Linked DNA regions of Homo sapiens: regions 2 and 3 are each linked to region 1. Evidence: promoter capture Hi-C in 16 types of primary human blood cells and fetal thymus (Javierre and others, 2016). All regions are on one chromosome and are shown on one strand. Each heading gives the region's core, a stretch centred on a gene start or on the middle of the fragment in contact. The rest is flanking DNA. Distances are from core to core; before and after follow the strand shown.

Region 1 (2,714 bases), core at 195-2,694:
CACTTGCCTTCATCAGGGGCATTCTTGTCCCACACGGACCACATCTGGACACTGAAGAAGGGAGCCCAGCAAGCGATGTAGGCCAGCACGATGACAAAGGTCATCTTCACTGTTCGGATCTTGGCCCGTGAGATGGTGTTGATGCTGCTGACCCGAGATGGCAGCCCCCGAGTGGTGGCAGCTAAGGTGGAAGGTGAGGGCCTGTCCCAAGTCCTCCAGCCCCCTCCTCCCACCCGCCAGGCCTGTGTCTTGACTTTTAGGTTTTTACAGATCTCATGGCAGATGAGGCTGTAGCAGGCCGTGAGCATGGTCACCGGCAGAACGAAGATAGCCAGGGTGGTCCAGGTGAGGTAGGCCCGTGGCCCCCAAGGGAAGCCGAAGTCTGCCCAGCAGTCCAGCACCCCTGAGCCCTGGATCACCTCCCGCAGGGAAAAAATGAAGACTTGAGGGAGGCTGAAGATGGCGGCCAGCAGCCAGGGAGCAGCGATGAGCAGGTAGGTGGACTGGCCTGGCTGCTGGAGGCTGCGCAGGGGGTGACAGACAGCCAGGTAGCGGTCCAGCGTCATGGCCAGCAGCATGTAGGTGGAGGCAAACATGCTGAGCACCTGCAGGTACTTGACGGCCCTGCACAGGAGGTCGGGGCCCTGGAAGCGGTAGGTGATGTCCCACAGCAGCTGTGGCAGCACCTGGAAGAGCGCCACGGCCAGGTCTGTCAGGGCTAAGTGCAGCACGAACAGGTGCATGCGGGAGCGCTTGCGGCCCAGCTGGCCCAGGGTCAGCAGCACAGCCAGGTTGCCCCCGGTCGCCAGCACCAGGACAGTGGCCAGGACTCCGATCTCCACCTTGGCCAGCTCCTCATCCCGGCCCAGCCAGGGTGTTGTGGCATTGGGGGCAGAGAGGGTGCCCCGAGGGGTGGGGTTGGCATCCCACAGAGGCCCAGAATCCATGAGCAAGGTTTGCTGGGAGGGAAGGATGAAGGGAGGGTGTGGATGCAAGTGGAGAGGTTTGATGGATAAAATGGAGTGGCAGGGGAGGTGGAGAGAAAGGAGAAGCGTTGAGAATGACAGGGAGAAGGCTTGCAAATAGGCGGAAATCGTTCAGAGGACTGGGATAGAGAGGAGGAGGGAGGATGAGATTCGGAAGGAGAAAATGTGACTGGGATCGACCCAGGAGAGGGAGAAGGAGGGGTCAGGAAGATGGGGAATCAGGACGGGAAGAATGGGGGACGCTGTGCAGAGTGAGGCTTCTGGGAGGGAAAGAAGGCTGGGGAGGGGCTACCACCCTCCAATCCGCCTCAAATTCTCTTTCTCCAAACTTTTCTGGAAGCCAAGAGCGGAAGCCCTTCAGCCTGCTTGGAGGCGCGGTCCGGGGCAGTCGGTGTCGCGCTCAGGGCAGGAAGCCCCAGCCAAGCCCGCTCGCTCTGCCTGGTGAGCAGCGGCTGGAGCGCAGCGGCGCGGCTCGGGCGGGTTTTATGGGCTCCCAGGCCGAGCCCGGCGGCCTGCGGCTCGCCAGTTGGCTCCTGCAGAGGAGGGAGGAGTGAGGTTCGCAGGCACCCACCCGGCGGGATGACCGAGAGGCCGGCTGCTGGAGGGAGGGGGGGCAGAGGGGGTAGCGGACGAGGGACAGGGAGCGAGACAAGCAGGCGACGCAGGCCAGCGCCCAGCAGCCGGCAGGACACACCGACCCGCAGGCAGGCAGATAAGCTCCTCTGCGCACTCACCCTGGAACTCTCGGGCCGTCTCTCCACAGGTGCATCCCCGGGGGATGGTGAGAGGCAGTCACTCCTCCCACCTACGCGGGGGCACTTCGGCTGGCGGCTGTTGGCGCGCCCTCTGCCAGCCGGCTAGCCGGTGCAGGATCCACAATCTTCAAGGGTGGCCAGGTGAGCGAGGCGGCATCCCTGATTGCCAGTCACCTGGGAGTGACGTCTGACCGCAGACCCTGTTGAGGGACTGCGAGGCATAGGGAAAGGAAGAAAAAGTGAGGGTATATGTGGGGGTGGGGAGACGAAGGAGCTAGACCTGAGAGCCCTGGTGCTTGATCGGTGGGAACAGCCGGAGAAATTCCCGGTATTTGCGTCCCCAAGGGACATCTTAACTTCTGGCCTATGTGCTTTTCGTGCTTAGGTGCTTCCAAGATCCTAAACGCAGTTAACCACTCGGCGAGGTAGAAAACAGGCCCAGAGAAGTTCAAGAACTTGCTGTAGAAGATTACTGAACGAGTAAGCAGCAGAGGCCGGTCTAGAACCAGCCCCGTGTGCCCTTCTGACAGCGCAGCAGCAGCACTTAACACCTAACCGGCTTGGCTAAATTCTATGTGAGAGGCACTGGTGCTGACGGTAAAAATAAAAACAAAACACCATCCAGTCCAGAGGCAGCTTACAGCTCAATAGAGAAGGTATTGTGTGGTGTTGGCTGTGAAATTCACTTAATCTTCAGTATGCAAGATGGACTATTGGGACTCTCCCTAGAGCAGATTAGAAGTTAGGAGTGACAGACTGGGCGCGATGGCTCACGTCTGTAATCCCAGCACTTTGGGAGGCCGAGGCGGGCAGATCACGAGGTCAGGAGATCGAGACCATCCTGGCTAACACGGTGAAACCCCATCTCTACTAAAAATACAAAAAATTAGCCGGGCGTGGTGGCGGGCGCCTGTGGTCCCAGCTACTGGGGAGGCTGAGGCAGGAGAATGGCGTGAACCCGGGAGGCAGGGCT
Region 2 (2,700 bases), core at 200-2,699, 270 kb before region 1:
AATCATGAGAATATTGAATTAGACTGCTCTCCAAGAACACAGTGCAAACAAATTCACCTGAGGCAGGAAGGGTCTCTGAAAGACAAACTTCATCAGTTTTGCTAAGGATCAACCCTACAATAGCATAGCCCACCAGATAGATGGGGAAGCCGAGGTTCAGAAAGATTCAAGTGCCTACTCAAGGGCAGACCCAAGGATCTGATCTCAGGTGTTCTGTCCCCTGCTCAGAGTTCCAAGCTGTGTTGCTATGAGGTCCCTATTCTAGCTTATGTAGCTTTTGTTCTCTTCTGTGCAGACTGTGAGTGGCTGTCTAATGCCTTTTAGAGAATTATTTATGCTTTGGGAAAGCCCTGCTCTGCCTCCCAGGCTTGTCACTCTAGCATATGAACAATCTATATCCAACTATTGGGGTTAGCTTTTGGTCCCTGCATCTGCTTCTATATGTTTATGCAGGCAGTCTCTCTTAATCCATTACTTAATGAAAGGGAAAAGACTGGAGCTAAGCTGAATGGTAAAGAAGGATTTCATCCCATAGGATCTAGCACTCAACAGAAACTTTCCTGTTTCCTGGAAAATGCAGATTCAGAACAGGGATGAATTTTTGGTCTGGATTAGAGATCTAGAGGAGACATGTTCTTCAATTATGATTGAGAATTAGGAACATCCCACACCCCGGGAACACTCCACTCCCTTTCTTTAGAGCCATCTGATCCCAGCGAGTCCGACAGGCACTAGATGCTGTCACCCACTGCCCACTCTTTGCTGTGGGGCCCTGGGGAAGATCATTTAGCTGACCTAAGCCTCAATTTCTCTCCTTTGTAGATAAGACTAATATCATTTGTCTTATTTTACGACACCGCAGTAATTTATCAGGCATGCAAACTTTCAAAGGTTAAAATTGATGTACAAATGAAAGCTGGTGTAATACTCGAGGCAAGCAGGGGAAAGAATGGACGGTGGTCACGCCAAGAGGGGTGAAGTTGGAGCTTCCAGGTTAGGCAGGGCACACCAGAGTTCCAGGAGCCAGGTATGGGGGAAGTGTGGCGTCCCCAGACAGGGGCACGATGTGCTGGGAAGGGTGTTGGGGCCGGGCTGGGGTGCGTGTCGGGGCTCCAGCTGCAGTAGCAGATGCTTTGCGGCGGAAGCGGGGAGTCACGGGTTGACCTGGGGAGGGAGGGACCCACATATGAGCATAGGTGGGTGAAGGGGACCCGGGTTCACCTTTCAGCGCCTCTTTCATCGCGACGCGTTCCTCTTTGCTGAACTGAGAAGGGATTCGCGACGCCCTTTGATGCTCCCCGCTCCTCGGGCCCATCGATCTGGAGACGGTAGGGAAAACTAGGAGCAGCATAGCCACCAGGGCCAGCACGCAAACGCACCGCTGAGCCATGCTTCTCTCGAGCTCCTGCTGTCAGGCTACCGGGGTAGTTCTGACCTAAACGCCCAGACTAGCGTTTCTTGGCCCTAGCTCTGCTCTTATTCCGGCAAACAGCCTTAGCCACACCCCATATCCAGATCTGACCAATCATCGCTTCGCTAGGACAGCGGAACAACCAATTGACAGAATGACCCCGCCCAGGATCCTTAAGGCCTTTCGAGGGTTGTGGGTTTTCGTGCTGAGGCCAGCAGTTCCTGCAGAGCAGAGGTGAGGTCGGGCTCCAGGCTAGAGTCATGTCTGGTCCGCACTTGATCTCTCACCCATAAATCCTTTCCTGTATGACAACAAATCAAATAAAGGAGGAAAAGCAAAATAAAATGCACGAAGCTTATCAGACCATACTCTGCTGCTCGTTTTTTCCGAAGCTTAGAACCTGACTACAATTCCCTAGATCCTGGGGCGGGGGAGCTCTCTAGGTTCCCAGCTTGATTTCATCTGAAATTGGAACAAATTGCTCTGTTTATAGATACTGCTTTGAAATACCAGCTCAGAGGGTTGGCTCCTGTTTAGAAATTTCATTGAAAGTGCTTTTAATATTAATGTTAACACTACATTTTTGCAACTCTAGACAAGTACAGTAAGACTGAAGGATTTTTAGAAAGATTACTATAAAATATTTAAGAGAATTTTGATGTATAAATAATTTTGATGTATTCCACAAGTGAAATTTTATGGTTATTCAGAGTAGAGGATCATTCTGGAAAAAAGAAAACCTGTCTTATGTCACAGAAATATAAAATCAGATTTCCTGAAGCCAGAATAAATCGTTCCTTTCAGATTTCTTGATGCAATTTTATCTGGCATCACTCTCAAATTTTAGAATTCTCAAGAAAAATTCAGTAAGTGCTATACAACCAGTAAGGCCATATTGCTACCTGTGACCAAAGCTACAGGTTCACAGTCCTGGTGTTTGCATTTCATTTAAGATTTGCTTAAAAAAAAAAATTCAGCCATGTAGTTACTTTTCTTTTCTTTTCTTTTTTTTTCTCTCTCGGTGCCCAGGCTGGAGTGCAATGGGGCGATCTCGGCTCACCGCAACCTCCGCCTCCCAGTTTCAAGCAATTCTCTGGCCTCAGCCTCCCAAGTAGCTGGGATTACAGGCATGCACCACCATGCCTGGCTAATTTTGTATTTTTAGTAGAGATGGGGTTTCTCCATGTTGGTCAGGCTGGTCTCGAACTCCCGACCTCAGGTGATCTGCCCACCTCGACCTCCCAAAGTGCTGGGATTACAGGCGTGAGCCACCACACCCTGCCTAGTTA
Region 3 (2,886 bases), core at 122-2,621, 290 kb before region 1:
TTATGTTGCCCAGGCTGGTCTCAAACTTCTGGGCTCAAGTGAGCCTCCTGCCTCAGCCTCCCAAAGTATTGGGATTATAGGTGTGAGTCACCACACTTGGCCAAGAACTATCTTTCCAATTGTCTTTCTCTTAGGACAGAATGCCTAGCTAGACTATCTCTAAGCCAGTCTCCTACTGTCCCACTTACTAGGGCTAAGAGAGGGTAGGGAAGGCAACTGCCCAGGGTGCCTACCCAGTTTTCTGTGGCACCTAGAAACTTTACTATCAGACCTCACATCCACCAACCTGCCTCCCCACAGTGAAACAAAACAGAGCAAAACAAAACAAACAACAACCAAACTACATATGTAATCTCAAAGATGAAAGGAAACAGAGTACCTACCCATCTCCCATTTAAAAAACAAAAACATGAAAGCTGTTCTTAAGCTCCTATTCAAATATTTTCACTCTGTCTACAGAGGATTTAGGATGGGGAAATCAAGTCTGGACGTGATAAGTAGCAGAGAGGTAAATGGAAATCATCCTCCCAAACCCCAGGATTGAAAATGTGCTGAAGAACCCACAAAAATAGTAATTCACACAGAGCAGTTAAAATTGGTGCTCACATCTTGGATTTCCATAGTGCTTTCTTCTGAGAAGTCAAAACACGCATCCACCTTTGACCTCATATGTGTCTGCATTTCAGAAAATGCTGAGGAGTCTCCCCATTTTGTAAGTGGAGAAAACGGGGTCCAGAGGATAAGCCCTCTCCCAAAGAGAGGAAGAGCTGGGATTAGCACCCAAGGGTACCGATTCCACCAGGTTCTCCCCAATCACCCAATTATCTCCATCTTTGTAAAAGAGGGGCCAATTTCCATAAATTCTAGGGGGTGACAATGAGACTCTGGCAATAAGGACAGTAGATGGGTTAGGTTCTACAATGTCTCCATTTCATTTTGCCAAATCCTGGCTTTCCCCCTGATTCTGTGGACTGCCAGGAGCATGGGGTAGGAAAAGGACACATCAAGTGTATTTCTTTTCTCCCACCTGCTGCTCAAACCTGTTCCACTCACCGTTTGAAGTCTTCAGGCTGTATGTAGATGGGGTAGAACCTGTAGATGCCAGTGGTGAGGTTTGTAAAGAATCGGCTGTCTGTGTTGCCAATAGAAGTAACTAGAGAGGGAAGATCAACAGGAAAGGGGCTTTACATGAGCAATCAAACCAGCGAAGTGGCTGGGGTGTGGCCTGGCTGGAAAATCAGGACTACTGGATCACTACAGAGCAATGCCTGGGCTCTCCTGAAAGCGTATAGCTATCCTTACAAAAAGCACCATTTCAGCCAGGAACATGGAATCTCCTTCCAAGGGCATTGGTGAGACATCCCTTGGATGGACCATTCAAGGGATGTCTCACCAATGCCCTTGGAAGTGTCCTCTCCCCATGACGACCAGGGAGGCCAATATCTTCATTTCATACCCAAGGCCATGGCCATTTGCTATTCCCCATGACGCCCAGGGTGGCCAGTATCTTCATTTCATACCCAAGGCCATGGCCGTTTGCTGTTCCCCATGACGCCCAGGGTGGCCAGTATCTTCATTTCATACCCAAGGCCATGGCTGTTTGCTGTTCCCCATGACGCCCAGGGTGGCCAGTATCTTCATTTCATACCCAAGGCCATGGCCATTTGCTATTTAAGAAACCAGAATCTAGATAGCACTTCTTTATCACCTGACCTTTATTCTGTATCACTCTAGGTCAGAAATAAATACCCTCTGGGAGAACTTTACTACTATAAAATATCACCGTCTTGAATTGGAACAAAATTTCCTGTTATTCTCATCCTCTGAAGTCTTCCTAGAGTCAAACCTTAGGTCTGGAAAGTGCCAGGATACTCTCTTTCCAGTTTCCCACTCTCCTGAAGGTGGTAGCAGGTCACCTAGCAGAGGCTGGGACTTGTGCCCATAGGTGTGTTCTTTGGGAAAAGACACCCTGGAGGATCAATTCAAGTGTGTGCGGTGATTTGAGATGGTAATTTGTGTTTTGTTCCATCTTCCACTCCTGGTTTCAAATGGACATCCAGGCCCTTCAAGTTCCTTGCTTTGTGGTTGATTGCTGCCTATCTTTTTTCTGCAAAAGCCTGGCCCCATTGGTGGATTACAGTAAGTGCTCCAGAAGAAAGAGAATAGAGTAGGTAGCCTTTGAGGGCCAAGAGAGGAGAATCTGGGATTGTGAGGGCCGGGTTCCTGGATGTTTGGAGGAATCTCTGATTAAACCAAGAGAAAAGAAAACTAGACACAGGCCTTAATATTAGAGCATTAATAATTGAGCAATATCATTATTATTGAGCAACGTCTCTCTCCTTTTTTTTTTTTTTTTTGACAGAGTCTTGCTCTGTCACCCAGGCTGGACTGCAGTGGGGCTGTCTCGGCTTACTGCAACCTCTGCCTCCTGGGTTCAAGCGATTCTCCTGCCTCATCCTCCCGAGTAGCTGGGACTACAGGCGTGAGCTACCACGCCCAGCTAATTTTTGTATTTTTAGTAGAGACGAGGTTTCACCATATTGGTCAGGCTGGTCTTGAACTCCTGACCTCATGATCCACCCGCCTCTGCCTCCCAAAGTGCTGGGATTACAGGTGTGAGCCACCGTGCCCGGCTGAGCAATGTCTTAATATTAGAGCAATAACCATTGACCAGAGATTCTCAAACTATAGTTAGTCATCACCTTGTGTCAGAATCTCCTGGGGGTATTTGTGAAAAAGGCAAATTCCAGGGTCCCTTCCAGATTTGGTTAACCCAAATCTTTGTAGTGGGTCCAGGTAATCTGCATTTTAATAGTTCACTGGGGAGACCTATTCCACTCTTAGATTGGAGAACCACTGTCTGCAAAGCACAGATTTGGATGGGGT

The links. The method cuts DNA at HindIII sites, captures the fragments that hold promoters and counts their contacts. A CHiCAGO score of 5 or more calls a contact.
Region 2: the fragment with the promoter of PM20D1 here is called in contact with the fragment with the promoter of AVPR1B in region 1 in 4 of 17 cell types (erythroblasts, M0 macrophages, M1 macrophages and 1 more); the score reaches 7.0 in erythroblasts.
Region 3: a contact is called between a fragment that was not itself captured here and the fragment with the promoter of AVPR1B in region 1, in 1 of 17 cell types (M1 macrophages). The highest score is 5.4, in M1 macrophages.

What each region holds. Positions count from the first base shown.
Region 1 is chr1:206,115,944-206,118,657 of GRCh38, forward strand. It overlaps AVPR1B (arginine vasopressin receptor 1B), which reads right to left and starts at 1,445. Exons shown (of 2, transcript NM_000707.5): 1 at 8-1,445. The coding sequence starts at 947. AVPR1B-DT (AVPR1B divergent transcript) reads left to right here and starts at 1,840. Exons shown (of 3, transcript NR_186693.1): 1 at 1,840-1,882; 2 at 2,127-2,397. RefSeq lists a silencer at 2,265-2,559. The HindIII fragment of the contact is 5,056 bases long and covers 1-2,714 here.
Region 2 is chr1:205,848,683-205,851,382 of GRCh38, forward strand. PM20D1 (peptidase M20 domain containing 1) reads right to left here and starts at 1,450. Exons shown (of 13, transcript NM_152491.5): 1 at 1,222-1,450. The coding sequence starts at 1,390. RefSeq lists an enhancer at 1,379-1,673. The HindIII fragment of the contact is 2,085 bases long and covers 1-1,763 here.
Region 3 is chr1:205,829,227-205,832,112 of GRCh38, forward strand. PM20D1 (peptidase M20 domain containing 1) reads right to left here. Exons shown (of 13, transcript NM_152491.5): 12 at 1,054-1,153. Among named protein-coding and RNA genes, the nearest start is that of SLC41A1, 17 kb to the left of the region's middle. The HindIII fragment of the contact is 9,446 bases long and covers 1-2,886 here.